Regions from separate parts of the Homo sapiens genome. Here region 1 is linked to region 2. Evidence: promoter capture Hi-C in human tissues and cell types (Jung and others, 2019). All regions are on one chromosome and are shown on one strand. The core of a region is centred on a gene start or on the middle of the fragment in contact, and the rest is flanking DNA. Distances in the headings are between cores, read along the strand shown. Region 1 overlaps RIOX2 (ribosomal oxygenase 2). Region 2 holds the start of CRYBG3 (crystallin beta-gamma domain containing 3).

What was found. Contacts are between HindIII fragments. The study calls those that stand out against the background at their distance.
Region 1: a contact is called between a fragment that was not itself captured here and the fragment with the promoter of CRYBG3 in region 2, in 1 of the 25 tissues and cell types used here (hippocampus).

What each region holds. Positions count from the first base shown.
Region 1 is chr3:97,954,797-97,959,330 of GRCh38, reverse strand. RIOX2 (ribosomal oxygenase 2) reads left to right here. Exons shown (of 10, transcript NM_153182.4): 4 at 152-280. Among named protein-coding and RNA genes, the nearest start is that of RIOX2, 15 kb to the left of the region's middle. The HindIII fragment of the contact is 6,932 bases long and covers 1-4,534 here.
Region 2 is chr3:97,819,803-97,824,711 of GRCh38, reverse strand. It overlaps CRYBG3 (crystallin beta-gamma domain containing 3), which reads right to left and starts at 2,701. Exons shown (of 22, transcript NM_153605.4): 1 at 2,357-2,701. The coding sequence starts at 2,505. It overlaps LOC101929298 (a long non-coding RNA gene), which reads left to right and starts at 2,936. Exons shown (of 3, transcript XR_427389.3): 1 at 2,936-3,025. RefSeq lists a silencer at 2,555-2,924. The HindIII fragment of the contact is 4,138 bases long and covers 330-4,467 here.

The DNA.
Region 1 (4,534 bases), core at 100-2,599, 140 kb before region 2:
AAAAAAAAAAAAAAAAAAAAAAAACCTGTGTTGTTCAAGGTTCACCTATATATTTGTCTATTAGCCCCTTAGAGGGCTAATAGTCCGGAAGCACTTTGTGTGTGAGTTGTCAGGAAGCTCTCTGATGCTCCTGGGCCTTGTGGGTCTCTAGGTTTTCATCCTGCAGCTGGAGGGAGAGAAACACTGGCGCCTCTACCACCCCACTGTGCCCCTGGCACGAGAGTACAGCGTGGAGGCCGAGGAAAGGATCGGCAGGCCGGTGCATGAGTTTATGCTGAAGGTATGTGATAACCGTTGTGGGCACCTCATTGTTAGAGCCATTGTGGTTTCCCCTATTGCTAAGACAAGTTCAGGCTCAAGGTTTAGAGTTCGTGTGATGGTCCCCGTGGGAATATATCCCTGGGTTTCAGGGCAGGGTGCTTCTCATTGCTGTCAGCCAGCACATGTAATTTCTGAAGGAGTCTTGGTGGTTTGCACTTGGAGAAGTGGGTTAAGGAAGTATTAAGTTCATTTCCCAAATAACCTGTTTTCATGTACAGTTCAAGTCCAACAGGAAGAAAGAGAATTCAGTGAACCACTGACTCCTCTAGAGGAAAAATGGAAGCTCTGGCCTTGGGCAGCTTCTCCACATCCAAGACGATGGTCAGCACAGGGCTGGAAGTTGCTTAGGCAGAACATAGCCAGGGATCCCTTAGTTTTTTTTGTTGTTGTTGCTAAAATTCCAGTGTGACTCATTTTCATCCTGGTTATATGTCAGGCTATCTCTGTGCCCCCTGCATAGTTACCAGAACAGTAGTAATCAGGAAAGTTCTTGAGGATTCCTTCTCTGGGGATTCAGGTGGCTTAATCATGTGCAGGTTCCTTGGCATCTTGCTGCTGAGAAAATCTGTCTTTGAGCAGTTAACATCGATGGGAACATAGCCAATCCCCAGCAGAAGAGGTTGTTGAGGAAAAGAACGTTACATGGATAGGAGTAGTTCCATAATTCAACTTTATACTCTTTCTTAAAACATGTAACTTAATTTCCTTTAGCAATAAAACAATAGTTATTTTAAACCATTCCAAAGATTCTACCAACCTGACACATTTGCATATACTTATTGTTTTTCTTGTGTCTCGAAGTTATAATTAGCCTGTTTCTTACTCAATGCCTTGTGTGTTTCTTGATTTCAAAATCCTTACCTACCTCCCAGTAACTAAGGGAAACAATCTTGCTGTTTAGGATGGGTGCCTATATTACAGGAGACTTAAATCAATAAACAACAGTAAAGGTAACCTTACTGGTTTTTTTTATGCTTTTAGTCAGTGGTCATCAAACTGTGGCCCATGGACCAGAAAATCTGGCCTGCTGCCTGTTTTTGTAAGTAGTTTATTGGAACACAGCCACACCCATTCCTTAATGTCCTGTGTTCATACTACACCAGCAGAGCGGACTAGTTGCCACAGAGATCACATGGCCCGCAAACCAAAAATACGTACTGTCTTTCCATTTGGCTCTTCACAGAGGTTGCCAGCTTTGTTGCATCATGTTTACATAGATTCACGGTTGGTTATCTTTAAAGACTAAGCCATCTGTACTCTCGGAAGTCAGGGCTGAGTTACTCAGGCCGGTGACCTGGCTACTTGCTCTGCCCGAGAAGGTCAGGCTTCATAGTGGCCTTTAAGTGTAAAGGGTGTGGATTCTTTGTATTGTTGCCATGCCCATGCCCATTAAACAGTCAACACAGAGTCCATTAGGAGATGCACTGAGTCTCCTGGACAGAGAAAGACCATGTTGTACAGTATTGTTCAAGTGTGTATGTGTATGTGCATGTCATTTTTTTTTTTTTTTTTTTAAGACAGAGTCTCACCCTGTCACCCAGGCTGGAGTGCAATGGCGTGATTTCAGCTAGCTGAAACCTCCGCCTCCCGGGTTCAAGCAATTCTCCTGCCTCAGCCTCCCGAGTAGCTGGGATTACAGCTGCCTACCACCATGCCCGGCTAATTTTTTGTATCTTTAGTAGAGACGGTTTCACCATGTTGGCCAGGCTGGTCTCAAACTCCTGACCTCGTGATCCACCTGCCTCGGCCTCCCAAAGTGCTGGGATTACAGGCGTGAGCCACTGCGCCTGGCCCACATTTGAGCTTTTAACCAGTGGGCCTCTTCAGGCGAAACCTTGTGTCAATGCCCAATGATGAAATAGAAAGGCTTAGTGGCTGTGGTTGAGGGATGGGCATGGGAGGGTGACAGTGGGGGTCTTGGAGCCCTTATCCGCTTCTTTCCCCTATGCTAGTGGCAGCCCGTGCAGTTCATCTGCAGACCCAGACTCCCAGGATGAGATCACGCCTGTGATGGAAACACCACTCTGTGGCTCAGGGATCTGACAGATCTGAGTTTGAATTCAGCTGCTGTCACTTATTAGCTGTATGTCCTTGGTCAAGTTATTAATCCAAGTCTCAGTTTCCTCTTTATTAAAACAGAGATCATGATATTTACCTTGCAGGCTATGAGGATTGAAAAATATTATTTTGCTGCCTCCTTTACAATAAATCTTTAGGCGGGGTGCGGTGGCTCACGCCTGTAATCCCAGCACTTTGGGAGGCCGAGGCAGGTGGATCACCTGAGGTCAGGAGTTCGAGACCAGCCTGACCAACATGTAGAAACCCCATCTCTACTGAAAATACAAAATTAGCTGGGCGTGGTGGCTCATGCCTGTAATCCCAGCTACTCAGGAGGCTGAGGCAGGAGAATCACTTGAACCCAGGAGATGGAGGTTGCAGTGACCGAGATCACGCCATTGCATTCCAGCCTGGGCAACAAGAACGAAACTCCGTCTCAAAAAAAAAAAAAAATCTTTAGAGGCAATATCTGTATGTCTGTCTGAGTTTTTCTGTTGCTTCTTGTCAAATTACCACAAACTCAATGGTTTAAAACAACATAAATTCATTATTTTATGCTTCTGAAGGTCAGGAGACTAAAAGGGATCTCTCTAGGGTTGCTGTACTGCATTCCTTCAGGAGGCTGTAGGGGAGAATGTTTACTTACGTTTTCCAGCCAGGAGGGTGGGGCAAATGTGTATGAAATGAATGAAATATAGTCATGTGCCAGTTGACATTTTAGTCAACAACAGACTGTATATGTGACAGTTGTCCCATAAGGTTATAATGAAGCTGAAAAATTCCTATCACCTAGTGTTATTGTAGCCATTGTAAAATGTTGTAGTGCTACGCATTACTCACGTGTTTGTGGTGATGCTGGTCTAAACAACCCTACTTCTTTGCTAGTCATATAAAAGTGTACAGTAGGGCCCTAGGCTCTCCCATTCACTTACCATCACTGACGGGCTCACCCAGAGTAACTTCCAGTCCTATGTAGATGTACCATTTATTATTGTTTATACTGTGTTTTTTCTTGTCCACGTTTAGATATATTTAAGTACACAAACACCATTGTGTTACAGTTTTCTACAGTATTCAGTACAGTCACATGCTGTATAGGTTTGGAGCCTAGGAGCAGTAGGCTGTACCATGTAATGTAGGTAGTACACTATACTACCTAGATTTGTAAGTACACTGATGTTTGCGCAGTGACATACCACTTTTCTCAGAACATAACCCCATTGTTAAGTGGCATGTGACTGTATACCTGAGAGTCTCACTCAGGCTGGCACAGAGACACTCAGTAAATGATAGTTATAATTATCAGTAAAGCATTTACTTGAAGTACTGTCAGTTTGTTGTCATTCAGGGAAAATTTGCAACTAAGATAGCTCTTATGAATATATATCATGATATATTCCTCTTGCTTTGAGGAGAATCTTAATTTTTTTTTTTAAGCTGGCATTTCTTGAGCTCTTTCTCCAGGGCTCATGGTCTTAACCATTGCACTAGACTACCTCTTGTAGTTGCAGAGAGAAGATGAGCTGCCCTCAAGATTCCCTCTTTTCTCCATAGGTAGCTGCTACATGGAATATTTTGGCCTGAGTGGGATTGGGAAGGAGGCAGCTCAGGGCAGGAGTAATTTGGGGAGAATGTTTTGGTCCACCCACTTGGAATAGGGTAGAGGAGGCTCAGCTGCCCAAGAAAATGATGAATTTTTGATTACATCTTATTTTTCAGTTGAAATAGGGATTGTATAGTTTTTCAATTCATCCCAACATTCATTGAGCCTGTGTTGAGTGCTAGGTGCTTTGCTAGGGTAGGCTCTGGGAAAGACAAGATGGTAAGATACAGACCCTGCGCCTAGAAGTACTCAAAAATTATCAGGAAGTGGGGGACTGGCGGATAAAATCATATAATCCAATCACATGCCCATCATTGCCCTAAGAGCTTGGAAGCAGCATCTCTAATCCTCAAAATAATCCTGTAAGGTTTGGGGCTATTAAACTTCATTTTACAGATAAAGAAACTGAGGCTTTGGGCAGGTAAATTGCCAGATCATCAGCCAGTAAGTGGCTGTGTCTGTGTGACTCTAAATTCAAGCTCCTACTCTTAACCACTGAAGCATGCAAGAGGGAGGAAGCAGGCGTCCCAGGCACAGGATGTTACCTTCCTT
Region 2 (4,909 bases), core at 1,452-3,951:
CTACGCCTAAGTTGGGATATACAATAGTGTTGATGCTAATAGGCCTTCTTTAATTGTGACAAAGAAAGAATACATAATGAAGTGTTGTCACCAACTGAAGCCCATATAAATCACAGCACACCATAAAAACAAAGATTTTCCTATGGTTCAAAACAGTAAAATATTGGAAGACCTGTATCAAGGCATGGCAGCTCCCCAAAGACCTGGTGTTTGTCCCAGTACGCATTTTGTGAGCAGGCAAAAAAACAGTTTCAGGATGTTGTAAATTCGACTTTTACGGGTCTCATAATTATGTTTTAGTTTATTTTTTAATTTTGTACTCCTCTTCATCTAAAATCATCACTACAGAAGGTATACCCAGCTCTCATAATGATAAAAGTTTTTATGCCCACAAAGAGAAATAGCCAAAATACTCTTTCATTTTGAAATAAGATCACAGTGACAAATTGCAATTCTGTTTCCAATCTTGTTAACATCAGGGTGTTGTGTTACTGGGACATTCAGTACTATAAAGCGGTTCCATTTGTTTTATTAAACTTTCAATAAAGGCTTTGTGTTTGTTTATGCCCTTGAAATGAAAGATTTAAGCTCATTTAAAACAGTAAAACACCCACATAAAGGGTCATCTGCTATCCCCCTAACATCTGGCAAGTTCCAAAAAAGATGAGAACAAAATTAGCGTTGATATAAGCACAATTAAAATCTTCATCGTTGAAAAGCCATAATTTGTGCCAATCTGGAGATGATGAGAATAGAGAAGTGGTAGGTGAACAAGGAACTAGTTGCTGGAGGGGTCAGCTCCAGTCAGTAAAGAAATTAGAATTGAGAAGTGCCTTAAAAAGCCAAAATAGGGCAGAGAGGCAAGCAGGATTTCAGGCCATTACTGACATGAGCCTGAATTTGACCTGCTTACTCCTTTCTAACACTGACTCTCAAGTTCCCAACTTTTGCTGCGCCTACTTGGGATTTCCTTGCAGACTGCGTTCATATTATCCAAGACTGTTAGTGCTGTTACGGCGGTGGCAGGCACCACAGGCTGTCTGCCCACACCAACAGAACTAGCTGACACCCTGGATGAGATCTGTCAGACTTAAAAACTATTTTTAACTTCTGTGTAACTTTGAATTTTAAACTCTCAACAGTCAGAGCAATAATAGCTGAAACGTCCCAGGAGAATAACCACTCAATTATCGTAGGAGCTTTCTTGGAAACATGTGGCATGTTATTAACAGACGGTCATAATGAAAATGTTTCACAAGCGGGGAAACCGAGGAACACACAAACGACTAAAATCACATCACAAAATCTGAATACTAATGGAATTGGCTCACTCTCAGTTCTGTTTCCTATCCATTTTTTTTAAGCCCACCAGGAAATCTTGAGTCCGAAGTAAACACGGTTTTCTGGAGTGTGTCCTTCCAATGACAATGGTCATTCTAGTGCAATCTCGGGAGAAGACAGTGTAAGCCTCTCATAAGTTTAAGAAAGCGAGCTGCGTTTTACTTAACCCCTCTTTCTTCGGGGGGATGAAAAGACTCAGAAACAGGCATTTAAATGAGGCATGTCTAAAATTTTTTGATTTTTGAACATGGGAAAGTGAAGGAAAGATAAAAATATTACAGAGAAAGGGTACATTTTGATTACTGAAACCAAGACAGCTGGAAACCTGATTTCCAGAATCTGTTTGGGAACTTGAGGCAGATGTTTCTAGGAGAGATGAGAAATAAAGAAGGGTGGCGTCATTTACATGTCCAGTCCATTTTGGTGAAAGTCTTGGGAACGCATTATCACAATTCCTTTTAAAAATCATTTTGAGAAAATTTAAATAAGATGGCAAAAATACCAGCTGAGGGGGTGACGCCCCAAAGCTTTACCTTTTCCACTTTTGCCCCGATCTCCTCCCACACAAGTGGTGCTGGGATCGCGCCCCCAATTCCCCTGGCCGACGGCTCCGCTCGGCTCACAAGTGTTTCCCATTACTGCAGGCGGGACGCCGGGGAAATCGCTTTTGCCACAGAACTTGGAGAGTAGAGCGTGTGTGGAACGGGAACCCAATCACGTCCGGGCAGGGGAAAGTGGGAAAGGAAGAGCGCGGAGCCAGGCGGGGATCGGGGGATATGCGTCCGGCTGCCGGGCAAGAACTTCACCCCGATTTAACCTGCAGAGGAGAGGCGAGTAGTGCGGCACGGGAACGGGGCAAGGAGGAGGAAACTTTAGCAATGGAGGAAGGAGAACAGAAAGTGGCGAGCGAACTGCAGCCTGGCCCAAGAGCGGCCCGCTGCCGGCGGTCAGGCCGGGAGCCTTCATCCCGCGAATATGTGCAGGGCCCCCCCGCGACCCCCTCCTCGACTCCCACCTGGCAGCGGACCGGCCTGGAGCTGGAGGCGGGCTCGTCCCCGGCCTCTCCTCCTCTTCCTCTTCCTTGTCCCGGGAAGGACTTCGGGGAGCGAAGAACCGGGAGAAGCTGTGCCAGGGGGCGCTGCCCCTTCTGCGGCCGCTGGACATTTCCCGAGGGGGCCGCTGGCCCGGGGCTGTCTGAAGGGAACGGCCTAGGTGTTGCCTGGTGCCCGGAGCCCGACCGGGCGCCGCGGGATGCGGCTAGGGCAGACCGACTCGACGCGAGCTGCCAGCGCGGCTCAGTCTCTCTCGGGCAGGAGAAGTGCGGACGCGACGCGCTCCTCGCGCGGCAGCTCCTCACGCCGCTGCGGCTGCTCCTCCTCCCGCCCTCGCCCGGCGCGGCCCGCCCCACCCCGAGGAGGAGCCAGTGGCCGCGGCACCGCCCTGAGCCGGGCGCAGCCGCCACCGCTGGGGCGCTACGTGGTCCCCCGAAGGCGCCGGCCTGAGAGCCTGAGGGGAGTCGCCCAGCGTGCGACGCTAGGCTCGGGCTTACGGCTCAAACAAGTTCAGGCTGCAGCCTGTTGGGCTTTGCCTTCAATTACTTTCTGTGACCGTTGTGTTTTCTATTCTACAGTCAGAGCACAGAAACGGTTTTCTTCGGGCTTTTGAAAGAGGTTTATGAACTAAGGTTTGTGAAAACACTTGGCAAACTGCAGTACCGGGGCGCCCCGGACTTGCTGGGAGCTAAGAAACAGCTACCGCAAATACAGCTCCAACCCTGAGGGCGAAAGTCGCGTTAGCACAGAACCGGGCGGCGGGAGGGAGAAGGGGGTACCTGTCAGGCGGTCACCACCTCCCGGCGCGTTCTGCTGGCTTTCTGTGGTGTGACTTTTCCTAACCGCGCTGTGCTTCAGACTTTTCACACGCCATACTTCCCTGCGAACTCTTTCAAAAACGGCACTGATCAAAAAGTATGATTTCAAGCTTGTCAATGCTGCAACATATTTTGCAGTCGTTACACAGATGCCACTGAAATCTGGGAACCAAAGGGTGCTTAAGACTTGTTTTAAGTCTAAGTACAGTGGTATGGATTTTTCTTGGTTTTTCATACCCTATAGCAGCTAGTACAGGAGATACTGAGAGGCCCATTCACCCCAAGTGTTTTGTTTTTGTTTGAAGGCAAGCTGCCCCTGGAGTAGACGTCAAGGAAGTGATATGGCTTTTGTTCATTAAAAAATGTATACAAGTAAATGAGATAAAAATGAAATGTCCACAGCAGAGGGGAGCCTTGGAGTAATCTCCCCTCTGGCTTTCGGGTGCTGGAGGAGAAGGTTGCTCATAAGTAGATTGCATACCTATAAGCCCCAAGTCCTTTCAGCACCTGCTGGAGGCTATTGAGCCTCCCTGCCTCCCCACGCTGCCTCCCAGAAGCCCTCCAGCTCCTACTAACTGCAATAGAGCCAAGACACTCATTCTCATTTGTTCTGGCAGGATTTAACCCATTAAAGTTCAGTCAGCCCGATTTCCATCAATCGGGTTCATCTCAGTCTATCCCTCAAGATTAATCCTTTTTTACTCTTTGGTAAATTTTTCCTATTTCTCTGTGAGCCTAGTCTGAGAAAATAGAAAAAGACTAAGATAATAGACTAGAATAAGACAAGTTCCCAATTCTAGCTTTATTATTTTATAAGAGAATCTCCACTGAAGACCCACTTACCAAAAAGCCCAAAGAGAGTAATAAAGCAAACTGTTTCTTCCAGCTAAAAGGCCCAAATGATAATTTGTCTTCCCAACGTATTATTGAATGACTATCACATTTGTCCCTGACTTGTTCTGTGATCAAACCAGGCCCCAGTGCCTACCCAGAGGGTACTTCGTTCAGGAAGTTTTTCTTGGAATAAAAATGGGGGGGAGTCAATAGGATTTAATTAATGAATTATGGTTTTAACTAATAATATATCTAACAATACTCTGATCTCCACTCGGTAGCACAGCAAAGCACTTAAGTGAATGGTAAATACAAATAATGCCATGTTTACACTAAGACAAATTGCGTCTATGACAAAATAGCTTAAAGTCATAAAACAATGACCATTGAATTTTCCTTCATTTGCTTTCTGAGCACTTATTAGTTTTCTATATGTCCTACATTGTTATAACCTGAACTCATATGAACAAATTTCTAAATACTAAATTCTAAGATTGCATTAGGAAGCCTGTAAAAATGTCAAATTTTAGAGCTGTAAGGATCTTAGAGATACTAATTTAGCACAGTGTCATTAATTCACTGATCCAGTTATTCCCCGACGTTTAGTGAGTGCCTGCAGTAGAAGCACATCTACAGTGAAGCCGATGAGGCTCAAGTTTCTTGGCTCCCTGCTGGCACAGTCTCTTCCAGTGTGAACTCAGCAATGGGATCCATGGCCAGTTTTATCAAATTTACAAAAGTAAATGTTTTAATGTGATTAAGACCACAATCTCTTTTTTTTTCCACTTAGATGTCCACTTAGATTTTCTTTTCCACTTAGAGTTATCAAGAGCATTTGGGAATCTGCTAGGGAATTTCAGTTGG